Regions from separate parts of the Homo sapiens genome. Here region 1 is linked to region 2. The links are contacts of gene promoters, found by promoter capture Hi-C in blood cells and fetal thymus (Javierre and others, 2016). All regions are on one chromosome and are shown on one strand. Each heading gives the region's core, a stretch centred on a gene start or on the middle of the fragment in contact. The rest is flanking DNA. Distances are from core to core; before and after follow the strand shown.

The links. The method cuts DNA at HindIII sites, captures the fragments that hold promoters and counts their contacts. A CHiCAGO score of 5 or more calls a contact.
Region 1: a fragment that was not itself captured here is called in contact with the fragment with the promoter of SLC17A4 in region 2 in 2 of 17 cell types (megakaryocytes and M2 macrophages); the score reaches 5.8 in megakaryocytes.

What each region holds. Positions count from the first base shown.
Region 1 is chr6:25,875,346-25,882,149 of GRCh38, forward strand. It overlaps the pseudogene H2AC3P. Among named protein-coding and RNA genes, the nearest start is that of SLC17A3, 4.5 kb to the left of the region's middle. The HindIII fragment of the contact is 2,575 bases long and covers 2,949-5,523 here.
Region 2 is chr6:25,750,069-25,756,588 of GRCh38, forward strand. It overlaps SLC17A4 (solute carrier family 17 member 4), which reads left to right and starts at 4,674. Exons shown (of 12, transcript NM_005495.3): 1 at 4,674-4,713. It also overlaps a transcript of SLC17A1 not described here. The HindIII fragment of the contact is 7,086 bases long and covers 2,945-6,520 here.

The sequences.
Region 1 (6,804 bases), core at 2,986-5,485, 120 kb after region 2:
GTGAGAGGAGAGTGAGTAAACTACCTCTCAACACCCTGGCTGAGAAGTGGGAGCCTGGCAGTATATATCACAGATCAAGAATTCAGAAGGAGGAACCCGGGTCCTGGGGAGTCAGAGCTACCATTTACTGCGCATTTATTACATGTCATCCTCACAATGCTTTCAGGTAAGTTTTATTATATTCTTTATAACATAAAAGAAAAAAAACAGATTTCTTCCATCTGCACTTTAAGAATTTAAGTATGGAAAATTTAAGCCCGTTATCGTGTGGGGGTAGTGTCAATTTCACCTTTCTAGGTAAAAGATTTTTCCCTGAGTCATTTCTGAAGGACTCTGGACCCTGGGATAAATAATGATCAACTTTGGGATTCACATATCACAGGAAATGTTTCTGACCCTGAATTATCCAAGTCAGAAAACGTTACTTGGTTTTGCAATTTAATGTTTAACTTTATTTAAAGTGCTCCTGAGTTCTTTACATGCTACTTGGTTTGACTTGGTAGAAATAGACCCAAATTGTCTCTGTGTAGAAAGAATAACAATTCAGCTTTTCTTCACCTCTATGATTAAACACTTGAATATGAATTGAGATATTTCCTTGACTTAGGTTGTAATATCCATCTCTTTTAAAAAAAGAATTTTACATTTTCCTTTTGAATAAGATTTATTTTTAAACTGCTTTGTTTTAGCCATGGGGATCATCAGAAAAGATAGAGTACACATTTCTCCTTTAACAGTTATCTTTAGCCAGGCGTGGTGCTTCACGCCTGTAATCCCAGTGCTTTGGGTGGCCAAGGCCAGAGGATTACTTGAGGCCAGGAGTTTGAGACAAGCATGGGCAACAGTGAGACCTCCTCTCTACAAATTTTTTTTAGAAAATTGGCTGGAGATGGAGGACGCATTTGTAGTCCTAACTACTCAGGAGGCTGATGAGGAGGATTCCTTGAGCCTAGGAGTTCAAGGTTACAGTGAGCTATGATCATGCCAGTGCACTCCAGCCTAGATGACACAGCAAGACTCTCTCTAAAACAAAACAACAACCAAAAAAAAAAAAAAAAACAGCTATCTTCAGACTTGTTTCATAAGACTGTGAACATTGTTGTTAATAATCAGTCACATGACAGCTCAGCAGGATGCAGGCTCTGATTCTGGGTTACATTTCAGAGGACTCCAGTGCACAATCCTGTTGTGATCATAGGAAACCTGTCTCTAGTCTTCCTAGAGGAAGCCCAGGATGGGTCCAGGGAGAGGAAGCACCTTTAAGAGTCAGACCTTCCCTCAAAGCTCACAATGTCAGCAGGGATTCTGATGAATCAGGGGTAGCTGTCAAGCAAACACACTGAATGAGCCTAAGTCTTAAAACAGAAGACTTGACTAAATGGCAGTGGTCATTCACTGGAGCTTGGCTGGTTTTTCACACACACTCTGGTCTAAACAATGAACCCATATGTGATGTTATATCTGCTCAGAACCTTACATCTTCATGGTTCTGGCAAATCCTTTTTTCTCCAAGTTCAAGTCAGACTCCTGTTTTGCCTTACCATCTCTATGACAAATGGGGTCAATCTGGTCACTGTAGTTATCAGGCTGACATCATCTGGTCATGGGCTTGGAAGTCCATCTAGAACACTAGTGGAACACTCCATCTCTATTATTTTGTCTTCTATCGCTGAGCAAAATGGTGCATTTTTTGTTATCTACACAATGCATTAACTTATGTCCTAGATTGCCATACTGAAAACACGTCTTACTTTTTTCCTTACACATGTCTGCTTTCTAGTCTACTTTCCAGTTTCGATGCCATTTCTTTCAGCAACTATTTTGCCAGGAATGCCCAGCTAAAACTGCAAAATCATATATTGAGGACAATGGCTATGGAAAAGAAGAAAGAACAATTGTGACAAGTATAATCTCTAGGAGAATACACAAAAAAAAAATCAGGAGTGCTTATGGGCTGAGGTGTTATATGCTTTCAGATAGAATAGTAAACAAAATTGATATCTGTAGTGCATAAAGGATGTCATAATTATCAAGTGAGAAAGTGTTGCATTCTTTAACCAGCACAAGTTACAAAATTATACCATGCTGAATTCATATCAAGACAACTTCACCTACTACCAGGGACTTAGAGTAAATGTATTTTACTTTGTTGAGTCTCACTTGGAGATCATTGAAAAAAATTAGGAATAAATCATGAAACAAAATGAAACCATCCACCATACTTTGCATATAACAGAAAATCAATCAATGAAGGTCATCTGTCATAATTATCATTACCATTATTATTTCTATGACCACCTCTGAGACGTCATGATTAATATTCATGATTGAAATAAAGCAATTAAAAATCAAATTCATTCAAAATAATCAAATATAATTTAATTAAAAAGTTGGAGGCAGTCAGCCATCAGTCAAAAAATATTGTTACTGTATGCATTCCAAAAAGAAATGTAAAGGGATAGCATTCCCTAGAAACAATGAATAAAATAAAATTCCCTGTATTTAATAAACAGCATCTGTAAAACCTACAACAAACATTCCGAAGGTGAATCTTCCTGTTACAATCAGATACATAAAAGAGGTGTTTGCTACATCTATTCACTGGAAGGCCTAACTAGCACAATAACACAAGAAAGAAATGTGAAGCAATTAGAAAACAAGTAAAACTATGATTATTAACAGATGATATGATTGTCTACATAAGAAAACAAAAAAAATCTGTACATAAATTACTTAACTAATGTGAGTTTGGCAAATTTGACAGATGGAAAAGTGATATTCAAAGACTGACTGCATTTTAATTACCAGCCCAAAACAAAAAAAAAGATATTATAAAAAGAGATACAATTCACAATGGCAATAAAAGAATGTAACAGCCACAAAAGGATATAAAACCTAGGAATAAATCTAATAAAAGATGTAGAAGATCGTTACGCAGAAAATTGTAAAGCTTTATTGTAAGGTATTGAAGTCGAACTAAATAAAGAGACATAACATTTTTATGAACAGGAACATTCAAAAATGTAAAAATCTCGTCTCTCCAGACTAATCCATATGCCATTCCAACCAATATTCCAAAATAATTTTCCATATAATTTAATTTACTAAATATATCCTCAAATAAAGATGGTGGTTATCTCTTTCTTTGTAATCATTCTTCTACTCTGCCCCTCACCCCCTTTTCAGAGACTCCTTGTAATAAGGCCTATTTAACACTAAATACGTGCTGAACACTATTCTAAGCACTTTACATACAATAACACTTTTACTTCTCATAGCAAACTTCTATGGTAGGTACTATTATTATGCCAGTTTACAGAGAGGTTAAGTAACTTGCTAGTAAGCTACGGAGTCAGGAATCCAACCACCCAGAAAGTCTGGCTGTTGTGTCCATTCTCTTACCCTCCAGACTATTTCATCTGTTACGCAAACATTGAAACCAACTTTCAACATCAGTTTCCTATAAAATTTCCCTCTCATTATTCTTCCTTTTGTATCTTGGCATTACTGTGAATTTCACCTGTATCAATTTTCTTCCAAATTCCTGAGATCACCTGCCTACCTTCCTTCCCTTCCTTCCTTCCTTCTTTCCTTCTTCCTTCCTCCCTCCTTCCCTCCTTCTCTCCTTTCCTTCCTTCTTCCCTGCTTCATTTTTTTCTTATTCTTTCCTTCCTCTTTCCCTTCCTTTCTTATTTCTTTCCTTCTTCCCTAATTCTAAGGATATTTGTCATTTCTAAGAAAACCTTCCTTTTCACATATCTAATTTTTGTTTTAAGTATGTCAGCATATATTTCTGATATTATTCATTTATTTATGTTAAATATTTATACTAACATTCTTCTAGTTTGGAGAGGGGTTCTAGTTTTTCTGTTAATTTTGGTGCTCTGTCTTGAGGATGTTGAGTTGTACTTGTCTATTGGTTTTTGTTACAAGCGATGGTGTTGAATTGCCAAATAGAAGAATACCTTTCCAAAACTTAAATGTTATTTACTACTGAAGTTCAGGTTAATGAACTTTCTGATTCTGAGAACTTGTCTTAGCAGATGAGGGTGAATGTTGGTTGTGCTGCCGGGATGGGTGTATGAGGTGCTGGCATTTTGAATCTGGGAGCTCCATGTTCTTACCTGAAACATTTTTATTTCTTAGCCCCTAGTGACCACATCAATCACTTAAAGTGTAGCTAGATTGCAAGTCTTAGCTTGGAGAAAAATGAAAAGGGTAATTTCTCTCTTATTCTCCTCTTTTTTATTTTATTTTTTCCCTCTGCCTCCTTTATGAAGGGGAGTTTGCTGCGGCTTGACATGGCTTTTCTCAGCTTCCAACATTTACACCAAAAGCTCTTAATTTGGCTCAGTTCCTTTTGATTCCTCCCTCTCCCACTCAGACTCTTATTTTTCTCTTGGTGCTAAACCAGGATGAGGAGCAAGATCATGTCAATGTTGTTACAAGAGAGGATTAAGGGCCAAACCTATTTATTGGCCTTTGTATTGCAGAGTTTAGTTTTTATTGTACTCAGTTGTGGCTTCTATTTGTCAGACACCTGTGCTTACAAGTGATAGAAGTCCAACTGAAATGGCTTTGGAAGAGAAAGAAAGAGAAAAAGAAAATATGGAGACTGAGGTAGGTCACAGAATATAAGAATGAGCAGCTGTAACAAGCACAGTTCCAGGGACCAGAGACTGGAATTAAATCTCTGCCCCAAAATAAATGAAGACCTTTGGAACTCTTATTTCAGCTGTTCTTTTGCACCTTCTCCCTTCTCTTAAATCTACTCCAAGAGGCAACAGACAAGTCTGTTGGCAGTTTTGGAGTCTCATTCATCACATCCATGAAAGCGAAGAAAAAGCAGCTGTGTTCAAAACCTAGGAGAGGCTCTTATTGGCCCAGCCCAGAGTACTTTATTACCATTTGAACCAATTGTTGCAGCCTTGTGGGTGCAGTGCCAAGTTGTCTGATTGGTCACTCCCATCATCCCAATGATTTTCAACCTACAGGTCATTACTCTTATCAATTTAGCACCTCTTATCAATTTAGCCACTATGGTTTTTTAAACAAGATGGATGAGGCCCAAATAGAATGGAACAGATCATAGTGCATCCCACTTAGTAAGAGTCAGGATTATTTTGTGAAACTTTCGATGCTGCAACACATGTGTTTACATATAAGCCTATATATTAGTATTGCAGCACACTTTAAAAATGTATATTTTTTACTCTAGGTCAGTCATACTCCAAAAGGGTTAAAATTCTTCTCTTTACTGCACGTTTTATGTATTTTATTTCTATTGATAATGCCTCTGATTCCCAGACATAATGCTTTTGGTTGGACTTTCAAAAAGGACGGCCTAGAAGATAATTGTTCAACCATGTAATTGCTTCACTTTTCATTACCCTGTGGGTTTATTGGGCAGCTACATCTATTTCTCCTCTGGACTCCAAAGTCAAAGGTTGTGTTTTGTACGCATGCTTCTTTCTTTACTCTAGGTCAAACTCTATTCCACAGTCCAGTCTGGGAACTGACGTAAGCTTCTAGTTGTTAGACAATGGTAGCCATCAAAGAAACTTAAGGTGATCTAAAGTTAGGTTTAATAAAAGTAAATTTTAGACTAACATCTGCCATATGTACAGATATTTATGAAACCATCTAACCATCAGATTGCGCCAAATGTTCATTCCTAGCAGATGCAACACCATTCCAGAGACAGGATTTTGTTACCCTTAGAGTTAGTATCAGGCAAAAGGAAATCAATCTAAACCAATGCTTTGGACACAAGCTTATCTAGAAATGAAGCCTAGGGTATCCTCCATAAAACTACAGGTTACAGACCTTACTGAACTCTCCAGATCTGGACTCTGCAGAGTCCAGCTTTGGCAGAAATGTGGCTGATAGAGGCCATTACAGGAGCGTCCTTTGGCCTGTAACCCTCTTTTACATCAGCCTGGCTGACCACCCTAGAATGAGACCTCTTGGGAAAGCTGACAGCCCACAGAGTGAAACCTTCAACCAATTGGCACATACATACCTCCCTATAGTAAAATATCTAAAGGCTAAATACAATCTTAAACATGCCAAATAAAAAGCACTAAAGCATGTCCCTTAGGCTTGAAGAAATTAATCATCAGTTGACAAATTCATTATAACTTGATGGCAAATAAAACAGCCCACATGAACAAAACTGTTTTATAAGTGCTTTTCTGGATACCACATAAAAATCTCTTTCACAAAATTATTAGGTTAATGCAAAAGTAATCGCGGTTTTTGCCATTAAAAGTAATGGCTTCCCACAACCAGATGTCCCATGCAAAGTAGTGCCCTCTAATGCCAAACCAAAAGCAGAGGTCATAAAGACTATATCCCTTACACACACACACACACGCGCGCGCGCGTTAAAATAATGGCAAAAACCGCGATTACTTTTGCACCAACCTAATACAGCTTGCATTGAAATCCAGTGCTAAACTCAGCTTTCAGGAAACCAATGTGACATAATATTGGTAAAGAAAACAAAGTGGAGAGTATCAGGGTAATGAATGAAAGGAATGGAGAGACTTTGTTGAAATACTCTTGGGCATTATCTGCCTATGCTTTTACTTGAACTCGTGGCTGGCTTTTGGTTTTACTTTTTCTTTCCCCTCGAAAAGTAGGTCATCTGCTCTGCTGGGCTTTATTATCTGGGGACGTTACTTGCCCTTGGCCTTGTGGTGGCTCTTGGTCTTCTGGGGCAGAAGCACGCCCTGAATGTTGGGCAGGACACCGCCCTGCGCGATGGTGACTTCGCCCAGCAGCTTGTTAAGCTCCTCGCCG
Region 2 (6,520 bases), core at 3,424-5,923:
TGCAAGGCGTAGCATAGGGTGTTGCCATAGATTAAAAACAAAATAAAACAAAGCACCGCCTTTTTTGGGGCATTGGCTTCAGGGATGGGATAGGAGCAGAAAAGAAGCTGTTATTAGAGTTTAGAAGGGCAGTAGTACTTAATTTGCATAGGTGAAACATTTAGAAAACTTTAGAAATGAATTTATAGGTAATTTCCCTATTGAGCTTATTATTTTTGGTGAAGTTCTTGGCATAGTTAATGTAAATCATGTGATTTACTATTGACTATATTTCACAAAGTATAATAAAACAAGACATAATCTGAAAAAGTAATTAGCTGGTTTGAAAATCAGAATGAAGGAAATTGAGAGAAACTAAAAACTGTAGACTTACTGAGTTGAAAGATACTATTTCTCAACTCCCAACAGTTAAAGATAAAACTGAGAAATGATTTAAGTAAGAAAGTCCTTTTAAAGCTTGGTCTTGTGCAAGTATCAAATCAAGGTGGTAACCATTCATAAAAATAATGAAGCAAAGGTTATGGCTTTTCTATTGAAGCCTGGTAGGCTCAAAGTAACCCATGTCAGAGAGAGAGAGAGAGAGAGAGAGAGAAAGGAGGGAAGGAGAAGCACTTGTATAGGAAACTGGTTATGATTTTGAGTGACATAATACCACAGAACTACCAACCTGGATAAAGGAGACTGTGACTTATCAAGGGTTATGTCACTTGTGTGTGTGGGGGGAGGGGGGTGTCGTATTTTAAAAAAATTTTTTTTGTCAGCAATGGGCCTAGTATTCTGCCCAGTCTGCAAGGACTATTCAAATATGGTCAAAGGAGATATTGGAAAAGGAAGGACTGGCCAGAGCATGGAGCCAAGACCTGTGAAAAATAATATCCTAGGGGAATTACTCATGGCATGCACAGCCACAGATTAATTAGGGATTATCACATATGCGGAGATAGGAGGAAGACTGAAATAGCTACCCACATGATCTCAGATTTCTTTGAACTACAAACTCCTGTGCAATTCTGTCTGCAATTATCTTTTCTGTGTCCTAGCATGACACATTGGGTGTGCATGGGTGTGTAGGGGAAGCAGACACCTAGTCTCGTTAGTTCATGAGTTTCTGGAGCAAGACAAGTCATATTCAACCTGACGAGATAATATCATAAAATTGTCAACATCAGCCCTGAAGCTATAATTAAATGAGACTTTGACTTGGCTTTTCATAGGAAGGGATTAAGTATATTTTGTGTGCAGAAAGGATAGTTTACTAACTAAATAATTTTGAATTGAAGCTTGGACAGTGATAGCTTATATGACTGTTCAAAAATTTTCCCTGGCCCTGCCCTGGAAAGAATTGTATTTCTCTATTTTGGTTCTATTGGGCTTGGCCATCTGACTTGCTTTGCCCAATGAAATTTGAGTGGAAGTGACACCTAGGCAAAACCTGTAAGAGCAAGCACTTGGCTCACCATAATTTCTCTTTTACTTCTGCCATGAGACCATCCATATTCCAAATAAAGCCTGATTTGTCAAACTGGGCCCCTAAGTGAGGAAAACATGGTGAGAAGCTGTAGCCAAGACACGATGGTCATGAATTGTGAACAGCACATAAAACTTTGTTATTATAAGCAACTGAGATTTTTGGGTCATTTGTTATCCCAGTGTAACTTAGCTTATCCTGACTGATAGAGCCATCATCAGTTTATTGGCTTTCATCTTGCTGTTGTCTAATGAGCCTCAGGTACTTGCCATACCTCAAGACCTGATATCCACTGTTACGGCAGAAGGAAAAAGAAAAAAGAAAAAAAAAGATGAGACACAGGCCTACTTCTTTTTATGCATCAATGGCCAGAAATGTGTAGGCCCCATTTGTTTCAAGGAAGCCACAGAAATGAAGTTTTTGTTCCTATATGCCTTATAGTAGATACAAGCTAGGGCACAGAAATTTGGAAATGTGGTTTTGCTTAGCCAATTAATAATGCTGGCCACAGAAACTCATCTACTGCTTCTTCTCCCCACAGAGCATGTGCTGTATATTTGCTATAATACAAACACGCGACGCTTAACCATAGGAATACATTCTGAGAAATGTGCTGTGCGGCAGTTTTGTTGTGTGGATACCATAGAGTGCAGTTACACAAACCTAGATGGTAGAGCTTGCTATACACCTAGGTTATGTGGTCTAGCCCATTGCTCCTAGGCTACAAACCTGTACCACATGTTACTATACTGAATATTGCAGGCAATTAAAACAGTGATATCTGAGAATCTGAACATATCTAAACATAGAAAAGGTACAGTAAAAAGATAAAAAATGGTATGTCTAGGAGACTTATCATAAATGGAGCTTGTGAGACTGGAAGTTACTCTGGGTGAGGCAGTGAGTGAATGTGAAGGCCCAGGACATGCCTGTACACTGCTGTAGACTTTGTAAACACTGTGCACTTAAGCTACACTAAGTTTATAAAAAAATTTTATTTCTTCAATAATAAATTCTAGCTTACTATTTCATTTTGACTTTATAAACTTTTAAATGTTTTTAAACTTTTTGACTCTGGTAATCACAGCTTAAAACACAAACATATTGTACTGCTGTACAAAAATATTTTCTTTAGGCCGGGTGCGGTGGCTCACGCCTGTAATCCCAGCACTTTGCGAGGCTGAGGTGGGCGGATCACAAGGTCAGGAGATCGAGACCATCCTGGCTAACACAGTGAAACCCCGTCTCTACTAAAAATACAAAAAATTAGCTGGGCGTGGTGGCAGGCGCCTGTAGTCCCAGCTACTCGGGAGGCTGAGGCAGGAGAATGGCGTGAACCCGGGAGACAGAGCTTGCAGTGAGCCGAGATCACGCCACTGCAGTCCAGCCTGGGCAACAGTCTGAGACTCCGTCTCAAAAAAACAAAAAAAAACAAAAAAAAAACACCAAACATTTTCTTTATACCCTTATTCTATAAGCTTTGATCTATTTTTAATTTTTAAAAATTAAAAAAGATTTATTAAAACTAAGACACAAATATGCAAGTTAGCCTAGGCTGACACAAAATCAAGACCATATTAGAGGCTTCTTGGAAAATCTATTTTCAAGTGTTTTACTTTTCTAACAACATTGGTAAAACACTTGGCAATCATCTTGGGGAATTGGGCATCACTGACAGGAGGAACTGCAAGTGTAAAGGCCTTGAACTTCATGGACAAGGCAGAACTAGTTGGAATTTAGTGAGGGAAGGACAGCAGGGCAGAGGTCAGTAAGGTTGGTGTGTCCAAGGTGATGTAAGGTGTTGGAGCACCTTCAGGAAGGTGAATTTGCTCTCTTTTCTCCTAGGTTCTCTGGGAAGGCTTTGGAAGACTTTTACACCAGTAAGTAACATGATCATATGTACATTTCCAACATTCTGCCTGCTATGTGGGGTGGATTAAAAGAGAGAGAATGGAAACAGTGGGGCCCGGTAAATAATCATTTTATTTACCCTGGTGATAGATGATTGTGATAGGAATGGAGAAAATAAAAAATAATGGAAAGAGATGAAGGTGGAACTGATAGAACATACTGTTGGAATTAATGTTGATGGAAAGTATAGAATGAAGGCTGACTTTTTTTTGGCAAGATTAACAGGGAAATGGTAATGCCATTAACCAAGATGGGGGATCCTGGGCCAGGAGTAGGGTTGGAGGGAGATTCAGTTCTGCTTGCAGTCATAAGACTGAGATACCTAATGGGTACTCAAGGAGAGATGGATGAAGTTGAAGTCGAAGCTCAGAGAAGAGGTCAGAATTGGGTGTGAAAGGAAAGGGGACTGGCTGAGATCTCCTTGGGAGTGAGTTTAGATAGGGAGGAAGTTCAAGGACAGAGTCTTAGGCATATCAACATTAGAAACCAGAGAAAAGATAAGGATTCAGCAAAACGTATTGACAAGGAACAACCAATGAGACACGAGGAAAATCAGATCTGAATGAATTAAATGAAACAAGGCATCAAGAAGGAACGAGTGGTGGAATCTGTCAAGCACTGACAGATGGGGCCTGGGATGTGACCACTGGATTTGCTGGCAGAGAGGCTGGTGATGGCTTTGCTAAGGGCTGTCTTGTTGCTGATGGATTCATGAGAAAACTAGAGGTGGGGAACCAGAATGCAAATATGTATGAGTCTTCTGAAATGTTTTGCCATAAAAGGGAGGAGAATCACAGAGTTAATTTTCATGGAAAACTCAATGGCCTTTGTGCAAAAAATTACAATCAGAAAACCATAAAAATCACTCAAGTCGACCAAAATGTATTAAGTCTCTCCTCTTTGGAAAGCTCAGTTCTATTAAACAGCAGGATGGTGGAAAAGGGACTCAAAAGGGGCAAAATATACCCCATCTCCATGAAGATTATAATAACTCTGAGAGACCCCAGAAGGGGATAGTGCTGTCAGTGAAACATGTGGGGTGTCAGGATCCTTATAAGAAGGGACATTGATTCTGATTAAGGATGAGGGAAGACATAGGTGACCTCAGCTGGGCTTGAAGCATGAGGAAGATTTAATGAGCTTGATTTGATTATCAATCAAACAATAAAATGTAAAGTTAAAAATTAAACCACTGGGCCAATAAAATTCTCCAAGCTGGTAACATAAGGGCTAAAGGTTTTGGGTAATTATTTACCTCCCAGAATTAGACAATTGCAAAGAGCTTAGAATATTTATTTGAAAGGAATGAGGATCCTGCACTCTTCCTCCCTCAGGTTAGTTAGCTTTCAAACTTTTACCCTTAATATTCTGCTTTTGAGATGATGGGAATGGGTCTGTTTCTGTTAGAGAGCAGCTTAATTTGCTGTTTAGGGGCAGAGATTGTGGGAGTGGAGAAGAGAATGCCTGTGTCCTGAGATAATTCTGGTAAGTGAGAAGGGATGTTGCATTAAGAGCCCTGGAACTACAGGGAATTAATTCAAGAGAATGAAATTTTCTAAAAGTATAGCTGAACAGAGACAGACAGACAGACACACACACATACACACACACACACACACACACACACACACACACAGAGGAAGAAAGAGAGAGAGGAAGAGACAGAAACTAAATGATATATTTGGATTGTTTTTGTGAAGTACATTAATTTTTTTAAGCATTGATCAAATCCACAGTGAGACAATAAATGCCAATACTGAATTCTCAGAGAGGAAGATTTTCATCATGCCTAAAAAATTAATGAAAACCAAACGGTTCTGGTTTGGTTCCAGCGAATTTATGGGAAAGCAAAATAAATGAAATCTAATATGGCTTTGGGAAGTAGTTAATGATGAAGAGTTTAGGGCAGAGGACTTTATTTGCAAACTGTGAATAAGAGCCATGGGCTGTTTCTCATAAGGAGGAAAAATGTTCAGTGCTGAGACCACCTAAGATGACATTTGAGCTGTTAATAGCTCTGCCCAGCACCTTAAGGAAAAGTCTCATTCTACAGTGGACTGATAACTAGCAGAGGAACAGGGTGCATATGAATCCAAAAAGAACAGACACAAGCAGTCTTGGCAAGAAAAACTGATGAGAAATTGATATAAGAATGGCTGGCTCCATTTCTTTGCTGTTTTTTCCTCATTTACCTGGTTTCAAAATAAATAGATAAGGCTGATGACTCACACATTTATATTTCTACAAAGGCCCTTCTGTTCTTAGCTATGGACTCACAGACACAAAACTTACCTGTCAATCTTCCCTTCTGGGTCTAACAGGAGTCTCAACCCCAAGTGTCCAAAATAAAGTTCTTGCTTTTCCTCTGGAACCTGTTGCCCTCCCTGCTCATTTCGCCAACTTCTTTGAGTGCAACACTATTCACTCATTTGCTCAAGCCGTAAGTCTAGAAGTCTCTGATGATTCTTCCCTTTCTCTCATTCCCATATACACCTCATTAGCAAGTCTTAGTGGCATATCTCCAAAACAGGTCCTGAATGTGGTCTTTTTCACCACAACTAGCCTAGCCCATCCACCATCAACACTTGTACAGGTGAAGAAACAACTTCTTGTTCAGTCTCTTGGTTCTCAATCTTGTCCTTTACAGCCCATGTGCCACACAGTGGCCATAGTAGATCCAGTCCCCTTACCAGGCCTATAGGACCCAAAATGGTCTGGCCATTTTGGGAGATCGAGACCATCCTGCCCACCCCTTTGATCTCATCTCCTACCATTAACCTCCTCATTCACTCTGCATCGCCATGTTGGACTACCTTCTGCCTAGAAAAACGTGACAAACTTGCTGGTTCCTCTGCCTGGAATTGTTCTTGCTCAGCGCTGTCTCCTTCTCAGTGTTCCCGTTTCAGCTCAAATATAACCATTTCACACAACCACACTAGGTAAGTGGTTAGACTAGGCAGAGTGCTTGCCCTCCTCTCCTGATGCTAATGACCTAGTTGCTGTCAATGCTACTCTTGTTTTTTTCATACCATGTGGCATTCTTACTTCTTTCTTTTCATATGTGCCCCTCCTGGGATGTAACTTTCTCGCAGGTGTACTGTCTGTGCCTGCATCACGCTGTCCCCACAACAGCACTGTCCT